Linked DNA regions of Homo sapiens: regions 1, 2, 3, 5, 6 and 7 are each linked to region 4. The links are contacts of gene promoters, found by promoter capture Hi-C in human tissues and cell types (Jung and others, 2019). All regions are on one chromosome and are shown on one strand. The core of a region is centred on a gene start or on the middle of the fragment in contact, and the rest is flanking DNA. Distances in the headings are between cores, read along the strand shown.

Region 1 (2,797 bases), core at 121-2,620, 830 kb after region 4:
GACTGCAGAGTACTTGTGGCAGCAGCCTGCCCTATACCCTTTTATAATACACAGAAGGCTGAGGTGAGAAGATCACTTGAGCCCAAGGTGTTCAAGGCTGCAGTGAGCTATGATCACATCACTGCACTCTAGCCTGGGTAACAGAGCGAGACGGTGGCTCACACCAGTAATCCCAGCACTTTGGGAGGCCGAGGAGGGCAGATCACCTGATGTCAGCAGTTCAAGACCAGCCTGACCAACACGGCGAAACCCCGCCTCTACTAAAAATACAAAAATTAGCTGGGCATGGTGGCGCATGCCTGTAATCCCAGCTACTTGGGAGGCTGAGGCAGGAGAATTGCTTGAACCCAGGAGGTGGAGGTTGCAGTGAGCCGAGATCATGCTACTGCACTCCAGCCTGGGCAACAAGAGTGAAACTCAATCTGAAAAAAAAGAAAAACTTACTCAAGCTTAACTCTACGGAACAGTAGCAAGGCTAAGCCGTGCTTTCAGGGACCCCCGAATGCTGCTAGTAGAAGACATGGCTAGGAAGGGAGATAGAGACTGCCAAAAAAAAAAAAAAAAAATGGGCCCTTTCCACAACGACTTTCTATATACAGCAGCTACAAAGATCGCCTCGTTCCATTCTGAGTATGTTATTACTCAAATGTTCCTTCTATGAAGAGCTGGGCTGTGCTGAGTTCCCATATCTGGGTCCCCCGTTCTTTTTCTTAATGCTTTGAAAATGTGGAAACTATTCTCAGCTCATGGACCCACAAAAACGAGGCTCAGGAACATGGTGTGTCCACCTTTGCTTTCCATTCACTCATGTGGTCTTATCTCTTCAATGAAGAAGCCAGACTGTAAGGACAGGGACCATGCCATAGCCTTCTGTGTCCTGCTGCTGCCTAACATAGTATTTAGGACGTATCTGACCCAGCCTCTCCTCCCCTGCCAACCCCGGGACATTTAGACCATTCACCATCTCTTGTCAAGATGAACAGAGTAGCTTCCCATTTGGGCTGGCAAAAATACCTGGGGTGTGTTTTTTGCTCTGCCACAAACTACATGGGTCACCTAAGGTAATCACACTCTTCTGTCTTCAGTTTCCTAACCTCTAAAATAAAGAGACTGAAAGACACTAATACTAAAGCACCTTTTAAATCTAAAAACCTATGAGTCAAAGTTTTGCATATTCTAAATAATTAATCCCAATATTCCTCAGGATCCCTGAACTCCTCCACAAAATTAAGCAGTGTTTTCAAAAGAAGTCAAAACAAAGCAGCAGAACAGCACTGGCATGAAAACAAGAACATAAAGTACATGTGACAAAGGCCTTTTTTAAAACATCCTAACCAGGCACAGGGGCTCGCACCTGCTATCCCAGCACTTTGGGAGGCCGAAGTGGGAGGACTGCTTGAAGCCTGGAGTTCAAGACCAGCATGGGCAACAAAGTGAGACCCCGTATCTACAAAAATAAAAATAAAAAAAACACCTGTAGTCCCAGCTAACTCAGGATGCTGAGGCAGGAGGATCGCTTGAGCCCAGGAATTTGGAGGCTGCAGTGAGTGATGATCACGCCACTGTACTCCAGCCTGGGCAACAGAGCAAGACCCTGTCTCTAAAAATAAAAAGAAATAAAACAACTTGGGCCAGGGTCTTGGTGGATAAATACAGCTGGGAATACCTTAGAAGAGAATATGAAAAAAAATTCGGTACAGTGGACACTATATTCTTTAGACAAAAGTTCCTGAGATCATAATCAGATAGAACAATCAAGTCAAAGATAACCTCATTTGGAAATTTATGAATAATCTATGACACAGAAAGATTTTATTAAAAGTTGTTCATCAAAACCAGAAAAGAAAGGTATTAAACACCTTCAAGGAAGAGAAGTTTGGCTACACAATCTGTAAGCATAAGCAACATCACAGGGTAAACACTGAACCTGAATAAGAGAGCACTGTTTAAAAAGCACTGCACACATCATGACTGTTGATGGTTGTGTGAGAAAACATTTTAAATGGTCCATTTTCAAGGCATGATAAATCTAAGTCCTGGCAGCCAGGCTGCAAATGTAACAAACCACATGGCTCATGCACCTAGAAAGTCACAATAAGCTAACAGAATGTAGAGGAGGGGTCAGCCCATTAAAGGGAAGAAAGTTTTCTTATTGGGAAATGAAAATTAAGCGGGGAAGGGAATGAGGTATAACCTTATAAGGGGGATAATGAAACTTAGGTAATGTCCAGGAAGATTGTAGCCCCATAGTACTCGGCCAGTGAGGAATTGGGGGAGGGACTGGCGTGCTAGGAGATAAATTACCTGTTGTGACTGTCCCAGGTGTGCCTGCCCACCAGATACCCGATCTCGCAAGACTGTTATTAAAAAGTCTCACTTTCACTGTTCTTCGTGCCTCTAAGTCCATTCTTGGGGTTTGGATGGGTGAGTGTGTTTCTCATAGTTGCCATTCATTATGAAGAAATTTTATCTTCATTAGAGCAGGCCCAATGGGGTCTCCACTTATAATATTCATTAAAAGTAATTCCAATTTTTCTTAATAATCAAAAATAGCAGTTTAGTGTTGCCACGAATTTAAATGAATGAGTTTACTAATGACAGCAATATTTCCTGAAGTGTGTTCCATGTGATTGTGTTTCCACCGAGGAAACGGTCCAGCCAAGCCTGGGAAACGCTTTCTTGCAGAGTCCTAGTGCATCTCAGCGTAGGAAAACCTCTGAGAGGGCCCAGTGTACTTGGTTTAACTCAGTTTCCCAAGTGACTATAGAATCTTTTTTTTTTTCTCAAGGGAAAACCG
Region 2 (2,700 bases), core at 122-2,621, 630 kb after region 4:
TGCTATTATCAGTCCCATTTTATAGATGGAGATAAAGATGATGAAACTCAAAGGTTAAGTAACTTGCTCAAGGTCAATGGAGCTGCAAAGGGCAGAGCTAGGACTTGGATCCAGGCATTCTGGCTCCAATACATCACAATGTACTGCTTCACTCCAAAATAAGACAAGATGGCAAATGCAGCAAGGCTGTCCATGAAGCTGAGGATAGAAAAGTGCTTACTGGGGCCAGACGCAGTGGCTCACACCTGAATCTTAGCACTTTGGGAGGCTAAGGTGGGTGGATCACCTGAGGTCAGGAGTTCGAAACCAGCCTGGCCAACATGGCAAAACCCTGACTTTACTAAAAATACAAAAATTAGCCGGGCTTGGTGGCTCATGCCTGTAGTCCCAGCTACCTGGGAGGCTGAGGCAGGAGAATAGCTTGAACCTGGGAGGCAGAGGTTGCAGTGAGCTGAGATGGCACCACTGCACTCCACCCTGGGTGACAGCGAGACTCCATCTCAAAAAAAAAAGAAAGAAAAGAAAAAAGAAAAGTGTCCATTGGATTAGGCAAAAGGGCCACTGGTAAGCTCAGAAAGAACTCACAGTAATAAACAATAGGTGCTAATTAACTGTTCAACAGGATTGGTTCCTGGCCTAACTGGTCTTTGGGGCCAGCAGTGTGCCATACACATGGCACCTCTCAGCCCTGGCTTGCATTGTCCTCGTTGGAAACCTATTCCAGGTTTACGCTCTGAAAAAGAGCAGGCACATTCCCTAATGCCTTCAGGGAAAACAAGACCCAGCGCTCCAGCTTCCTGAAGTGTATAAGAGAAGTGTGACGTGCCTGTTTATAACCCAGCAACTATACTCAGGCATAGACTTAGATGCATTTGAACATATCATCAACACAATTACCTGTACCCAGATTAGCCTCAGCAAATCTTTAAGCTCTCACAGCTGTCTTCAGGTGTTCAGAGGATTATTATGGAGAGATGTTGATCAGCTGTTCTCCATGTCTCCTGTGTAGAGAACAAAAGGAAAGAAGCTTAAATGTCAGCAAAGGATTTAGATGTAAGTGAGAACTCTGTGAGGCAGGGAGGTCCTGTGTATCCAAGCGTTTCCAACCTTTCTGTCTTATTTAGCTCTAAATATTCCCTTCTCCACCATGCTGCTTCTTATGTTTATTATAACAACGACAATGACAATAACAATAATGGCAAACGCTTATATAGTTCTTACTTTGTGCCTGGCACTGTTACTAAGCTTTTTATTCATATTCATTCAATACTCACAGCAACACGATGACATAAAGACTATTGTCATCCCCATTTTATAGGTAAGAAAACTGAAACAGAGAGAGAGTAAAGAACTGGCCAAAGGTCTCACAGTCAACAAATGGCAGAGCCAAGATTTGAAGCCTTAGGCCAAAGTCCATCGTCTTAACAATGACCCTATGTGCTAATCTGGAGATATTGTACTAGAACAGAATTCAAGATAAGGCAGAGCATGGAGAAATGCTAATAAATTGGCATGGAGGCTGTAGTAGATTGTTACAAAATGGCCCTAAAGGAACCATGCCCCTCTGAATTCACCCGTGTGTCCTCCCCTCCCACGCAGGATCCGTACCAGCAAAATGACTCGCCTGAACCACTGAGAGGTGATGGGACTTCAAGCCCAGATCTTAAGAGATCTAGAGCTTTTGCTTTCTCTCTGAGAACCCAACTGCCTTGTAAAGAAGTTCAGGCTGTCCAGCTGTAGACAGCAGCAACGTGGAGAAAGAAGCCTTGAAGGTTGAGTCCACATGGAGGAAAAGAGAGGCATCCCAGCTAAGAGCCAGCACCAGCGTGGCAAAGGAGGCCATCTTGGATGCTTCGGTCCCAGTTGAACTGTCCCAGCAGACACCATATAGGGCAGAGATGAGCTGGCCAAAATTCTAACTCGAAAAGCGTTGTGGTTTTAGGTCCCCAAGTGTTTTCTTCCTTTTTTTTTTTTTTTTTTTTAGGCAGAGTCTGGTTCTGTCGCCCAGGCTAGAGTGTGGTGACACAATCTTGGCTTACTGCAACTTTGCCTCTTGGGTTCAAGTGATTCTCCTGCCTCAGCCTCCCTAGTAGCTAGAATTACAGGCGCCTGCCAGCATGCCCGGCTAATTTTTGTATTTCAAAATGTTGAAATTAGCCACCAGCCTGGATAATTTCAGACCAGCTGTTGCCCAGGCTGGTCTCAAAATCCTGAGCTCAGGTGATCTGCCCACCTCAGCCTCCCAAAGTGTTGAGATGGCAGGCATGAGCCACTGTGCCTGGCCCGTGTTTCTTTTTTATTGTGGCAAAATGTACACAACATAAAATTAACCATTTTAACCATTTTTAAGTGTGTGGTTCAATGGCATGAAGTACATTCACATTGTTGTGCAACCATCACCACCATCCATCTCCAGAACTTTTTCTTTTCTTTTTTCTTTTTTTTTGAGACGGAGTTTCACTCTTGTTGCCCAGGCTGGAGTGCAATGGCGCGATCTCGGCTCACCGCAACGTCTGCCTCTGGGGTTCAAGCGATTCTCCTGCCTCAGCCTCCCTAGTAGCTGGAATTACAGGTGCCTGCCACCACGCCCGGCTAATTTTTGTATTTCAAAATGTTGAAATTAGCCACCATCTTGGCTAATTTCAGACCAGCTGTTGCCCAGGCTGGTCTCGAATTCCTGAGCTCAGGTGATTCACCCAC
Region 3 (2,700 bases), core at 151-2,650, 640 kb after region 4:
CAGATTTTAAAAAAATGCATCCCTCAGTTCTGATGTGAATAGTGGATACCACAAATATAGAACATTTTTATCACTGCAGAGAGTTCTGTTGGACAGCCTACCTCTCACATCTCCCTCGTGCTTTGATGTATCTTCTGTTTCTGAGGAGGTATCTGCAACAGGGTGACAATGACTCTGTCAATCACCTTTCTTTCAGTGCCTAGTTTGTGTCAAGCAGTAAGGTAGTAAGAGAGTATCTTATATATGTACTTTTTTTTTTTCGAGACAGGGTCTCACTCTGTTGCCCAGGCGGGAGTGCAGTGGTGCGATCTCAGCCCACTGCAACCTCCACCTCCCAGGTTCAAGAGGTTCTCCCACCTCAGCCTCTCGAGAAGCTGAGATTACAGGTGCATGCCACCACACACAGCTAATTTTTGTATTTTTAGTAGAGACAGGATTTCACCATGTTGGCCAGGCTGGTCTTGAAATCCTGACCTCAAGTGATCTGCTAGCCTTGGCCTCCCAAAGTGCTGGGATTACAGGGGTGAGCCACTGCGCCTGGCCTTATGTACATATTATCTTATTTAGTCCTCATAGGATTCAACCATGAGTCAGCTCAAGGAGACCATTCTATAAGATCATTGTAATAAATCAGAAATCTGATGACCATTAACTCAGATTTCCACCCCCATTCCCTACTCAACAGGCAAAATGTAAATTGGGCTACTCTGCCTGTGGGATGGCCCTGCTCTGTCCATGGAGCAGCCAAAAAAAAAAATATGTCTATATACGTCTAAACATTTTTAAAAATGTAAATTGGTCTCAATCGCATCAGATCATACAGAGCCCTTGAATGCAAATAAAAGATAATTCTTGTTAGTGTGGCATCTGTGTCTTTTCAGAATCTGGAGGGCTTACAAGTTCAATGACCACAGGGCACTAACCCTGAGGCCTAAGGCAGCCAGGGGAGATTCAAATCTGGAGCAAAACAATGCATGGGCTTAGTGTTCTTTACTGAGGAGGACTTTACTCTTTATCATTTAAATTATAACAGCTTTAATCTATCCCTTAACAAAAGGTCTGCTTCAGGAAAGTATACACACAAACATGTATATGTGAGCATACAGACACACACACAGAGACAAGAACAAGATGGGAGGGGTTTGTTTTTGTTTTTGTTTTGTTTTTGAGATAGAGTCTCACTCTGTCACCTAGGGTGGAATGCAGTGATGCCATCTCAGCTCACTACAACATCCGCCCCCTGGGTTCAAGCGATTCTCCTGCCTCAGCCTCCCGAGTAGCTGGGACTACAGGCCCGCACCACCATGCCCAGTTAATTTTTGTATTTTTAGTAGAGACAGGGTTTCACCATGTTGGCCAGGCTGGTCTTGAACTCCTGACTTCAGGTGATCCGCCCGCCTCAGCCTCCCAAAGTGCTGGGATTACAGGGGTGAACCACCGCACCCAGCATCTCAAATGTATTTTGAATTAGACTTAATAAATATATCTATATATGTTGGCCTAATCTTTGGTGGCTAAGAGTAACTGACAGTTCCAAGAGATGCAAAAAACTGCAAAATAAAAGGTGATTCAAAATAACTTCATGTAAGAAATATTTTGAACATTAAAAAATGATGAGCAATTTATTTTTGTCAATAGGAAAACAATTTCTCTTCACTCCCACTAACAGTAAATAAATATTTAAGGAATATTGGTTTGAAATAAAGACACTAAATTAATAATACCTGGGATGCTCTCATGTACTAGCTCGGCCCTAGAGATAACTATGTTTACTGCCATTTTACAGATGAGAAAACTGAGGCTCGAAGAAGTTAAGTGCCATATTTCTTGGGTAATCAGTGGTAGAAATTGAAACTTGGGACGAATCTACTCAAGAATTCCATTCTGACTCCCTGTTGGGTAGACTTGACTCTGACTCATCTTTCTCTGATTTTTGTGGTTGAAATTCTGATTGAAAAGAGAATGTTAGAACATCCATTTAAAAACCTGAACTTGTACTTGAAGGAAACAGCTAGGACTTTTTTTTTAAGATGTCGCCCAGGCTAGAGTGCAGTGGTGAGATCTCAGCCCACTGCAACCTCCTCCTCCCGGGTTCAAGCGATTCTCATGCTTCAGCTTCCCGAGTAGCTGGGATTACAGGCACTGGCCACCACACCTGGCTAATTTTTTGTATTTTTATTAGAGACAGGGTTTCACCATGTTGGCCAGGCTGGTCTCGAACTCCCGACCTCAAGTGAGGAGGTTTTACCAAATTCATTTTAAAGATTATACTTCAATTGATGAAAAACAATTAAATTGCTTTCATTTATTTAAAAACTTACATAGTACTCAGTTCTGCCATTGTAGTGTGAAAGCAGCTACAGAAAATACATAAACAAATTAGCCTGTCTGTGTTCCAATAAGAACCTTATTTATGGATTCTGAAATTTGAATTTTATATAGCTTTGCATGCCACAGAATATTAGTCTTCTCTTGATTTTTTTTCAATTTGTAGATATAAAAACTATCTTTAGCCCACTGGCCATATAAAAACAGGTGGTAGGCTGGATTTGATGTTCAGTTCTTAGTTTGCCACCGCTAATTGTAGAGCATGAAATCAAAACCTGGAGAAATGTAGGAGCTTGCCTAAGAATATGGAAGAATAGGACTATGCTCCATTTTTTTTCTGCTTGCTAAGCTTAATGGGTTGTATTCTATTAT
Region 4 (2,881 bases), core at 1-2,500:
CACTTTGTCATGAGGTTATTTCGCTTCTCTATTCTGGGAAAAACCACTGCAAGTGGAATGAAAAGTAACCGCAAAGGGAGGGGACGGAGGAAGTAAAAAACAGGCAAAACCACCACCACTACCATCACCACCACCACCACCAACCAGAAAGCAAAGGTGAAAAATTTGCGTACCCTGAAAACACTAAACATTTCACATCAGAACCCAGAACAAATAAACCAGGGAAAGCAGAGTTGAGAGAAAAAAAATGGTGCAGGCTTGGGGACGGACTCATACTACAGCGGTCGCAAGAGGGAAGAGCACGTCTTTGCTTTTTCTTGGCATCCGAAAACTCAAGCTCGAACTGGGGGCAAAGGCCAGCGGCTGCGGTTCCACCGGCTAAGGCGCACACATTCCCCGAGCTCAGACCGCACGCTGGCAGGGCCGATGGGGCTGGGCAGCCTCCCTCCACCCCGTGGCAGTCGCCTACCCCTTTGTCTCCCCGTGGGGCTCCGAGGCCGCGCGCCCGGAAGCCCCCCGCGGGAGGGCCGCGCGCGAGAAGGCGGGTTCCCGTGCCCGCCGCAGCGGCCACGGCCCTAGTCAGGCAATGCCGAGGCCGGTCGCTCGCCTCGCCGTCCCTCCCAACTTGCAGCCTGGACCCCGCGCGCGTCAGGGCTCGTCCCAGCTCTGCTTTCCTTTCTCCCCTCACCTCGCGAGGCCGACCTTGTGTTTGTTTTGTTTTTTGGGGCTCGGGAGAGTGCCGAGGGCTAGAAACAGCTGTGGTTTACCGCGCCGCTTATTTTGGCAAAAATTCCGGGCCTGTTGCAATGTTCCCCAGCGCCAAACAGCTCCCGCCTTCCCCCCAAGCAGAACCCGACACTCGAAGAAGGGCTTGCTCCTCCAGGGACCCCCTGATAAGAAAAGTGGGGACCACGGCCCGCTCTCGGGCGAGACTTGGGGGGTGGGCGACCGGAAGCAGCCGAACCGGCCGGGCAGGGCTTGCTCTCCAACGGGAGAGCGGGAGCGGGAGAGGTGGGAGCGCCCGCGGGCTCAAGTCCCCCGGGCCGCCGCGCCGAGGCGGAGCTCGGGGACGAAGCAGAGGTCGTGGCGGACAGCCGGCGGGCTTGGGGGGGGGCGGTGGGCGGCGATCCACCTGGGCGACGTGGCAGCCATTGCCGGCGCCTCGAGACCCCTCCCCACCCGGCCGCCCACCCGCCCTCTCGCGGCGGGCTTCTGCGCGGCTGCTCTTCCCCGGCCGGACGGAGAGCGGCAGTGTCTCCCCGCCGGGCGCGCTCGCCGTGTCTCCCCCGCGGCCGCAGCTGCTTGCTAGCCTTGCGCGGCGCGGGAGAGCGCAGTGGCGCCGGCGGGAAAGGGCTGCGGACCTGCGGCGCCGCGTTGTGCGTTCGACGACGCGGCACCGGCTTCGACGCCCTCTGCCCGCTCCAGAAGCAGGTAAAGGCGGCGGGTGGGAGGCAGGGAGGCGGGTCCAAGGTGAGGGCCCTGGAGGTTAGGGGTCCCGGGGCTCCGAGCCGAAGCGGAGGGCCTGAAGCAGCGGCGGGCGGCGCGGCGAATGAACCCCCAAGCCCTGAATGTGGGGCCCGGCGCGGGCCGCCTCCGATCTGACCCGCGGGCCCGGCTGCCCGGACGGAAGGGAAGTGAGGCGTCGGCGAGAGGCGGGCCCTGGCGCTCAGCCCGAGGCCGGGCGAAGGCGGGGGCCGCGGCCGCTTCCTTGGCCTCCGAGTGCCTGGCGGGCCTCCAGGCCCCAGACACACCCCTCTCGACCCCCCGAGGTTTCCTCCCAGATCTGTTCCCGCCGGGACCTGACCTTGCGCCCCTCCAGGCGCCTTAGGTGTTTGCCAGGCGGAGCCTTCTGGGAACTTCAGGCCACCTTCCTGAGCACATAGTCCTAGCAGAGCCGTTTATTTACTCAGTTCAAGTCCAGACACACAGCCACTCACACGTTCGGATTTTGGAGACTGCGGGGAGACTTTCCCCTCCCCGGCATTTGTGTGTCTTTGGCCCTCGTCCCGCCTCCCCTGCCCCCATCTGCAACTTTGTCCCTCAATGGGACCCTTCTAGAGCCCCTCTCTCATCGGGACTCTCTCTAAGCCGTCCGTTTGGAAATTCATCCTCAATAGAGTGAGTCATCTTAGCGGGGGCACAGTTTATCTCTCATGCGCTTTTGGTTAAAATAGTTTTTTTTTTCCCTCCGAAAGAGAGCTAGAGTAATAGAATGTAGATGACAGGTCAGTGTCAGTGTTGGCTTCAAAGGCTCTTCCTTTCGGCGGCAGTCTTTGTAACTAGGATCTGATATTTGTGGCACGGACAGGTTTGTACACATTCTCGCCATGCAGTGGTTGTAATGTCTCCATGGCACAGTTCTGGCTTGAAGGCAGGATTGGCTGCTTTTTCTACTCGACATCTTTGAGCCAATCAGCAAGGGCTGCTTGCCTGGAGACTGGTTAACTCAGTAAAGGTGGCCATTGGTTGAGCTCCTAGAAGAAAATCCTGGAGATGAACCTAGCCTCTCAGAAAACAATGACTGATTTGCAGCTGTATTAAAAAAATGTTTTCTTTTAATCCCAACATCAGCCTTTTCACTCCGTTTTTATTACTTCCAGTGTTTTTCTTTCAAACACCAGCTGTCTTTTGTAACTCGTTTTAACTCTCATCCTTTAATTTTAACTAAAAGACGCGCTTTAGGAAATGTAAACATCGTGTGTTCTGTGTTTTGATAAACGTGGTTCCATCTGCCTTTCTAACATTGTTTACTGCTAAAGGTCAGAAATAAACAGTTTTGAGTTTCGCTGCCAGGACCTTTTATTATTTAAGTGCCGTGCTAGGATGGGGGGTAGGAGCGAGGGGCTGTAGTGGTGGACATGGTGGGAAGAATAGGAAATAA
Region 5 (2,700 bases), core at 27-2,526, 800 kb after region 4:
TTGCAGCTGCAGGCTCCTTTGAGATCAAAGTAAGCAAGTTCAAGATGACCGACTTTAGTGCCCAATGGCCCACTGGTGTGATTAATACTTCCACCCTTGGAGTGCAGATGACCTGAGGCCCCTCGTTGTTTGCGCCTACTGCCACATGCTCAGCTGACCTCCAAGGCGGCCATCAGCAGCAGTATCTTCTTGTCTCACCTTGGTGTCATCCACACTGCTTCCCAGGGATGCTCCAGTGCAGAGAACCTGCAATGGGCCCCACGCCAGCATAGTGTGAGCTCCAAGAAAGGAAGAAGACACCTGTTGTATTTATTATGCCACTTAATCACCAGCACCAATGCCCAGCACATGGCAAGTGTCCAATAAATACTTATTAAATAAATTATCCCCATTGCAGAAAAGCTAGAACTAAACAACGTGGCGGCTGTTAGAAAAGTGTGTTTCTCACATCTGCAAAGTGAGAATGATAAAATGAGGCCAGGCATGGTGGCTCATGCCTGTAATCCCAGCACTTTGGGAGAACCGAGGCAGGTGGATCACCCAAGGTCAGCAGTTCGAGACCAGCCTGGCCAACATGGTGAAATCCCGTCTCTACTCAAAAAAACAGAAATTAGCCGGGTGTGGTGGTGTGCACTTATAGTCCCAGCTACTCAGGAGGCTGAGGCAGGAGAATCACTTGAACCTGGGAGGCAGAGGTTGCAGTGAGCCGAGATTGTGCCACTGCACTACAGGCTGGGTGACAGAGAGGGACTCTGTCTCAAAAAAAAAAACAAAAAAAAGGAAGCAAAACGGAAAGTAGGGTTCTTACTGAGCTACAAACCATGACACCTTCTTTGATAATACTGGCTGATGCTTTATGGAAAGTCTTTCCCCTCTTAAGCATTTCATTCACACTCCCTTTTACTTATAACTTTTACAAAATTACAGACCACATTTACAAACACATTCTGCTTCTAACTTCTTAGGAAAGGCCTCAGGACACTTAATAATTCCTTTCTGAACTCAACTAACTAAAAGGCAGCAGCAAGGATCTGAACTTTAGAGAGAATCTTACAAACTACTCTTGTGTAAGAGCTCGGCTGGAGGAAGGGCCAACTGCTCAATGGCCTAAGAAAACCTAAAAGAGAACAGCATGAGGAAAGCAGGCAGAACCCCCATTCATGATACAAGTCAAAGCCAGGCTGCAGCTGCAGTTATAAAAAGAAAGAAAAAGACTAATGGGATTGCCCCCTCCTTCCGCCTTCTCCCACCCAAGGCAGTAATGAAGATTCACAGCTACACATTAATTAGGAATCCATAGACGTGCCTGGTTACAATATTGGTATAGGGAAACAGATAATAGAAAAGGCACAGATTCCCCCACAAGCTAATAGAGTGTTGTAAGCAATATTTAAATCTTCACGCCTTTCTTTTCAAAAACACTACTTCTTTCTCAATGCCAAGAGCTGGCTGCGTTTCTACATTTGGGGAATTTGAGATATTTTCTCGCATGGAAGTCACACCAATATCCTAAATCGTGTAACTAAAATCATTTGGAAATGCACAGTTTTTCTACACGAAAGGATATTGCTTTTAATCCAAATACTGGATTACCAAAACCCTGAAATATCTTTCAGTCCTAATGTAGACAGGAAGACAGAAATGTGGCCTCACCAGGGGGCACGTGAGGCGAAGGCAGTCACTGCCTCAATCATAGAACGCTGTCCACGGCAGAAATGCCCCGTGCAGACCCCATCAATGAATAGCCCACCCCGAACAGTCCTGCTGCACTGGCGAATTGGGGGTCCAAGGACGCCTCCCCCCCATTTCATACAAGCCTCACTCCTTCTTCCCACCGGCGGGGCAGAAAGCCCCCTCTTCAGCCCTTCCAGCCGTCCAGGACCAGGCAACTCGCTAAGCGCTGACTCGGGGAAGGGAGGGCGCAGCCTTTGTCCCGCAGGTCTCCCGCGCCCGCCTCGCTGTCCCCGCGAGCGAGCTTGGGCTCGACCCCCGTTCCCCCTGAACGCACCTGCAAACAAAGGAGAGCCGTTCCTTCGCCAACTTCCTCACCTTTGCCTCCCGGTCCTTCCGAAGTCGGGCGGGGATGCCGCCCCAGGTGCTACGACAAGCCCCAGGGTGCCGGCACCAGCCAGCGGTGCCGTCGCTCAAGCAGCCGCGCGCACTGCCCCGGGCTCAAGTTGAAGAGAGCGGCGCCCGCGCCTCCCTGCGCCCTCCCTGCCCCGCCCGCCGCGGCCGCCCATTGGCTGCTGGGGAGGCGCGTGGCCCCGCCCCACCCGGCCGCACTCCCGTGAAGTGCTCCCGCTAGGTGCTCCCGCCAGATGCTCCAGCTGCTAGGGGACTGGCTCAGGGCCGGCAAGGAGGATCCCCCACCCCAACATACTCCCTTCCTGTAACGAACGTTTCCTTTTTGGACTCTCAAGACTTAGAAACTTCATTCAAACCCACTGAACCTCTTTAGAAAAAGTTGATGCTCTAGGCCTGCTGGGTTTCTGGTTTCTTTTCTTTTCTTCTTGAGACAGAGTCTCGCTCTGTCGCCCAGGCTGGAGTGCAGTGACACGATCTCGGCTCACTGCAACCTCCGCTTCCCAGGTTCAAGCGATTCTCCTGCCTCAGCCTCCCTAGCAGCTGGGATTACAGGCGCCCGCCACCATGCCTGGCTAATTTTTCCTATTTAGTAGAGATGGGGTTTCACCATGTTGG
Region 6 (2,700 bases), core at 20-2,519, 670 kb after region 4:
GAAATGGGGTTTCACCATATCACCCAGGCTGGTCTTGAACTCCTGAGCTCAAGTGATCCTCCCGCCTCGGCCTCCCAAAGTGCTGGGATTACAGATGTCAGCCACTGTGCCAGGGGCAAGTCAACATTTTAAAACCTGTCTTACTTAAAAAAAAAATTTTTTTTAAATAAATGAATAAATAGGCCAGGTGTGGTGGCTCACGCTTCTAATTCCAGCACTTTGGGAGGCTGAAGTGGGTGGATCATCTGAGGTCAGGAGTTTGAGACCAGCCTGGCCCACATGGTGAAACCTCTTCTCTACTAAAAATACAAAAATTAGGTGGGCGTGGTGGTGGGCACCTCTAATCCCTGCTACTCGGGAGGCTGAGGCAGGAGGATCACTTGAACCCAGGAGGCGGAGGCTGCAGTGGGCCGAGATAACAACATTGCCCTCCAGCCTGGGTGACAAGGGCGAAACTCCTTCTCAAAAAAAAAAAATAATAAAAGAATAAATAAATAAAACCTGTCTTACATAAAATATTTTAATTGCCTCTATTCAAAATCTATCTTTTAGTTAAGACTTTTTTACATTTTTAGTTTTTGTTTTCAGAAATATGTAATGAAAAGTAATAGTAAAAAAAAATTGACATTATTTTAAGGTAAAGATACATCTTCCATCTCCAAGGCTGCTTTATGAATTGTAATTGGAAAAAATAGCTGATCAAATAATCTTTTCCCTAAATATCGTATTTAACATTAATTGAAGTCTATGAGGTACTAGGCACAATGCTAAAACTTTTATCTACATTGCCTTAATTAAAACCCAGGGCAACCCAGCAAGATAGGAAATATTATTATCTCCATTTTGCCGATGAGAAAACTGAGACTGAGAGATTAAATGACTTGTCCAAGGTTACATGGCTAGTAACTAAAGATCAGAACCTAGGTTGGTCTCTGACTACAGAATCCAGAATCCATTATGTTCTTTCCGGGAAAAAAAAATTAATGGTCAAGTTAAATGGTAGCTTGATCACATATTGTCTACTCTGAAAAGTAGCATTAAATTCTGTTTTTGTTTTTGCTTTTGGTTTTTTTGAGACGGAGTCTCACTCTATCACCCAGGCTGGAGTGCAGTGGCGCGATCTCGGTCACTGCAACCTCCGCCTCCCAAGTAGCTGGGACTACAGGCGTGTGCCACCACTAGCATGACTAATTTTTTTATTTTTAGTAGAGATGCGGTTTTGCCATGTTGGCCAGGCTAGTCTCAAACTCCTGACCTCAAGTGATCCACCCACCTCAGCCTCCCAAAGTGCAGTGATTACAAGCACTGTGCCTGGCCACATTAAATTCTGTTTTAAATGTTTACAGCAGCCGGGTGCAGTGGCTCACGCCTGTAATCCCAGCACTTTGAGAGGCCAAAGTGGGCAGATCCCTTGAGGTCAGGAGTTCCAGACCAGCCTGGCCAACAAGACAAAACCTCCATCTCTACTAAAAATACAAAAATTAGCCAGGCATAGTGGTGGGTGCCTGTAATCCCAGCTACTTGGGAGGCTGAGGCAGGAGAATCACTTGAACCCGGGAAGCAGAGGTTGCAGTCAGCCGAGATCACGCCATTGCATTCCAGTCCGGGGACAGAGTGAGACTCTGTATCAAAAAAAAAAAAAAAAAAAAAAAGTTTACAGCCTTCAATTTGATTATCTCTTTGATAATAGAAAAATATATGTAAGCTTCACAGAGCCTTGCATCATGCTGGCCTTATGGTAGATAACCTATCAAAATGCTCATCATATTGTCTTACAAATGGTAAAGGCTTAATAAATATGTGCTCATCAGTTATGAAAATTATTTTCTTTCTTTTTTTTTTTTTTGAGATGGAGTTTCGCTCTTGTTGCCCAGGCTGGAGTGCAACGGTGCGATCTCAGCTCACCGCAACCTCTGCCTCCCGGGTTCAAGCAACTCTCCTGCCTCAGCCTCCCGAGTAGCTGGGATTACAGACATGCGCCACCATGCCCAGCTAATTTTGTATTTTTAGTAGAGACGGGGTTTCTCTATGTTGGTCAGGCTGGTCTCGAACTCCCGACCTCAGGTGATGCGCCCACCTCAGCCTCCCAAAGTGCTGGGATTACAGGCGTGAGCCACTGTGCCCAGCCGAAAATTATTTTCAATTGGACCAATTTTGTTGGAACCACCAGCAGTTTCTTTCATTCCATTATTCATAAATTGCAACTTTATTTTTTTCCCCAGGTTCACATGAGGACGGTAAACAATTTCTAATTTTATACTTAAATTTTAAGCCAGGTAAATATATGCTATATAATAGCATTACAAAGGATTGCTCTGATGTCACCTGCATGTTTATAAATTAGATGAAATTAATTTTATTGGGTAGTCTATAAGGATTTGATTTCAACCATACATTCTCACTTTTTACTCTTACAATTTTTTATTGAGTTATAACTCCATATGCCATAAAATTCAACATTTTAAAGTATACAACTCAGTGGTTTTTAGTATATTCACAAAGTCATGCAACCATCACCACTATATAATTCCAGAACATTTTTTCATCACCCCCAAAAGAAATCCTGTATCCACTAGGAGTCACTTTTCATTCCTCCTTCCTACCATCCCCTGGCAACACTATTTACTTTTTGTCTCCATGGATTTGCCTATTTGGGACATTTCATATAAATGAAATCATACAGTAGATGGCATTTTGTGT
Region 7 (2,831 bases), core at 251-2,750, 740 kb after region 4:
CTCAAGAGGCCCCGACTCCAGGTCATTCCTCATCTCCTATACTCTGGTCTCCATAACTCTCTTCATATCCCTTTGTCCACATCTCTCACTCTGTGCTCTCTAGAATTTATAGTTCCTCATCAACAAAAATTCCCTATATTTTAACTTCTTTGAATGTCCTCCCCCTTTGTAAAAAATTCCTGTAACTTGCCTTTCCCCTGGGAACAGTGTTTCCTCAGTCTTTCCTCTCCTTCTTTTTTGAGCTATTGCCATCACACGTTCACTCCTGCCACTAAACTGAAACGGTCCTGTGAAGATCGCCAGTGATCCCCATGCTGTTGTGTCAGTTGCCAGCCCTGGTCTACCTAGGTCTGTCTGTGGCAGTTGACAGAAGTGGTCGCTTCCTCTCCCTTCACACACTTCCATCACTTGTCTTCTAGGGCACCACCTTCCAGGCCTTCTCTCTGGCCTCCCCTTCTCTGTCTCCCTTACTGGGTCCTCTCTGTCTCAACACCCTGTTTAACATGGGAGTGTGCCACAGTCCATGCCTTGGATCTTTTTTCTCTGCCTATACTTATCCCTTGGTGATTGTATCTAGTCTTATGGTTTTAAACACCTCTATGTGACTCCCAAATCTGTATTTCCAGTCTAAACTTCCTCTTGAAACTCTAAGCTTATATTTCCAGCTGCCTTCTTGACATCTCCACTTAGGGACTCATAGTCATCTCAAAGCTAACATGTCTAAGGTGGAAGCTCTGATCTTCCTCCCGCCATACTTGTTCCTCCCACAGTACTGCCATTTCAGTTAATGATAGTTGTAGCCTTCCACCCGCTTAGGCTAAAAACGTTAGCATTATCCATGATTTCTCTTTCATACCCACAGCCAGTCTGTCAGTGTATGAGGTAGGTTCTACATTCAACTTATATCCAGAATATATCCAGCTACCTCCACCACTACCACGGTGTCCAAACCACCATCACCTCACACTTGAATTACTGTAATGACCTCCTAATTTCTCTGCCAGCCTCTGCCCCTGCCCTCTGCACTCTATTCTTAACACAGCAATTGGAGTGATCTTGTTAAAACCCATCATAACCCAAGTAAAAACCTAAGCCCTTCCGGTGGCCCACAAGTCCCTGTACTATCTGGGGCTCAGACCATGCTTTCTGACTTCGACTTACTACTCTCTCTTCATTCCCTCTGCTCTGATCAAACCGGCCCCTTCACTTTCCTGGAACATACCAGCACCATGTTGACTTCAGGCCTTTACACTGGCTGTTCCTTTACCTTAGAATGCTTTTCTCTAAATAGCTCTGTGGCTGGTTCCTTATCTCCATCTAGTCTACCCACAGTTTGCCATCTCAACAATGCTTTCTCTCACTGCTCTATTTCACACTATTTCTCCTGGAACTCTCTATCCCTCACCCGGCTCTGCTTTTCTCCATAGCATTGATCACTTAACAGTACTATATAGTTTTCCTATTTATCTCTGTCTTACTGTCTTTCTCCTCTACTAGAAAGTTAGCTCCACAGGGGCAAGGATTTTTGTTTGTGTTATTGTATCCCAAAGCCTAGAACAGTGCCTGTCTGGCAGGTGGTAGGTGCTCAATAAGTATGAATCAATGAGTGAATTGCAGGTGGTAGTATTACCTCATTTTACGGATGAAAAATTTAAGACTTTAAGTAATTTGCCCAGGTTCATACAGCAGTAAGTGACAGAACTGGGATTCACCTCTAAGTCTGTCTGTTTCTAGAGTCCTTTAAACTATTTAGGCAATATCGCTTGTAGAAGAATGGGCAGAAGTATCAAGTTCATGGTAACCTGCAGTATTTATTTATTTGTGTTTATAACTAAGTTGGCCTCATTTTTTGTTGAATTTTCAATTTCCATACAATCCAGTTAGAGTGACTTTACTTACTGGCCACAGACTAAATTACTAAGACAAGCTTTTACTTTAAAGGGGAGCCATTCAAGCATCTGGGGAAATTATTCTCATCAAAACCATGTGGTATTAGTATCAAATAGATGTTTGGAAACATAGCACATTTGTATAGGATTGTTAATATAGTTGTTACAGTCATTGCATCTTCTTCTAATATAGTTACTAAAGCTCAAGCAGTTGTTTACTGCACATGTTCAGTTTTTCCAGAAGAAAATGAAGCTGTTGTTAAGAAAGCACTGGAATTTCAAGACCTTGGGAATAAAGGACAACCTTACAGGTAAGAAAAGGAAGGATTCTTCTAAACAACTCAAACAAATATTTTTTAAAAGGAAAAATATTATTTTCTAAGTTGTATAAAGACATTCTACTTTTTAAAATTATACTTTAGTATGATAAAATTGCCTGACTTCTTACAAATTTAACCAAGATTCCATAGGGCCTTTTTCTTTTTTTTTTTTTTTTTTTTTTTTTTTTTAAAGATGGAATCTTGCTCTGTCATCCAGGCTGGAGTGCAGTGGCACCATTTCGATTCACTACAAACTCCGCCTCCCAGGTTCAAGCAATTCTCCTGCCTCAGCCTCCCAAGTGGCTGGGATTACAGGCAAGTGCCACCACGCCAGGCTAATTTTTGTATTTTTAGTAGAGATGGGGGTTTTACCGTATTGGCCAGGCTGCTCTCAAACTCCTGACCTCAGGTAATCCACCTGCCTTGGCCTCCCAAAGTGCTGGGATTTAAGAAATGATATGGCTGGCCTGGTGCGGTGGCTCACACCTGTAATCCCAGCACTTTGGGAGGCTGAGGTGGGCACATACCTTTACCTCAGGTGTTCAAGACCAGCCTGGGCAACATGGTGAAACCCTGTGTGTTTAAAAAAAAAAAAAAAGAATATGATATGGCAAACGTGGAG

The links. The method cuts DNA at HindIII sites, captures the fragments that hold promoters and counts their contacts. A contact is called where the count stands out against the background at its distance.
Region 1: a fragment that was not itself captured here is called in contact with the fragment with the promoter of N4BP2 in region 4 in 1 of the 25 tissues and cell types used here (spleen).
Region 2: a contact is called between a fragment that was not itself captured here and the fragment with the promoter of N4BP2 in region 4, in 1 of the 25 tissues and cell types used here (IMR-90 fibroblasts).
Region 3: a contact is called between a fragment that was not itself captured here and the fragment with the promoter of N4BP2 in region 4, in 1 of the 25 tissues and cell types used here (lymphoblastoid cells).
Region 5: a fragment that was not itself captured here is called in contact with the fragment with the promoter of N4BP2 in region 4 in 2 of the 25 tissues and cell types used here (H1 embryonic stem cells and thymus).
Region 6: a fragment that was not itself captured here is called in contact with the fragment with the promoter of N4BP2 in region 4 in 1 of the 25 tissues and cell types used here (aorta).
Region 7: a fragment that was not itself captured here is called in contact with the fragment with the promoter of N4BP2 in region 4 in 1 of the 25 tissues and cell types used here (spleen).

Annotation. Positions count from the first base shown.
Region 1 is chr4:40,883,163-40,885,959 of GRCh38, forward strand. The region is part of intron 12 of APBB2 (amyloid beta precursor protein binding family B member 2); the gene reads right to left. Among named protein-coding and RNA genes, the nearest start is that of NSUN7, 130 kb to the left of the region's middle. The HindIII fragment of the contact is 4,774 bases long and covers 1-2,797 here.
Region 2 is chr4:40,681,070-40,683,769 of GRCh38, forward strand. No RefSeq gene overlaps it. Among named protein-coding and RNA genes, the nearest start is that of RBM47, 53 kb to the left of the region's middle. The HindIII fragment of the contact is 3,688 bases long and covers 1-2,700 here.
Region 3 is chr4:40,697,955-40,700,654 of GRCh38, forward strand. No RefSeq gene overlaps it. Among named protein-coding and RNA genes, the nearest start is that of NSUN7, 51 kb to the right of the region's middle. RefSeq lists an enhancer at 557-1,330. The HindIII fragment of the contact is 4,986 bases long and covers 1-2,700 here.
Region 4 is chr4:40,055,600-40,058,480 of GRCh38, forward strand. N4BP2 (NEDD4 binding protein 2) reads left to right here and starts at 1,251. Exons shown (of 18, transcript NM_018177.6): 1 at 1,251-1,431. It also overlaps the pseudogene LOC344967. RefSeq lists silencers at 463-672, 1,013-1,472, 1,523-1,872 and enhancers at 2,063-2,112, 2,213-2,312. The HindIII fragment of the contact is 26,276 bases long and covers 1-2,881 here.
Region 5 is chr4:40,854,977-40,857,676 of GRCh38, forward strand. All of the region lies in intron 12 of APBB2 (amyloid beta precursor protein binding family B member 2), which reads right to left. Among named protein-coding and RNA genes, the nearest start is that of NSUN7, 110 kb to the left of the region's middle. RefSeq lists a silencer at 2,144-2,343. The HindIII fragment of the contact is 9,079 bases long and covers 1-2,700 here.
Region 6 is chr4:40,724,185-40,726,884 of GRCh38, forward strand. No RefSeq gene overlaps it. Among named protein-coding and RNA genes, the nearest start is that of NSUN7, 24 kb to the right of the region's middle. The HindIII fragment of the contact is 4,923 bases long and covers 1-2,700 here.
Region 7 is chr4:40,796,705-40,799,535 of GRCh38, forward strand. It overlaps NSUN7 (NOP2/Sun RNA methyltransferase family member 7), which reads left to right. Exons shown (of 12, transcript NM_024677.6): 10 at 2,083-2,200. Among named protein-coding and RNA genes, the nearest start is that of NSUN7, 48 kb to the left of the region's middle. The HindIII fragment of the contact is 5,844 bases long and covers 1-2,831 here.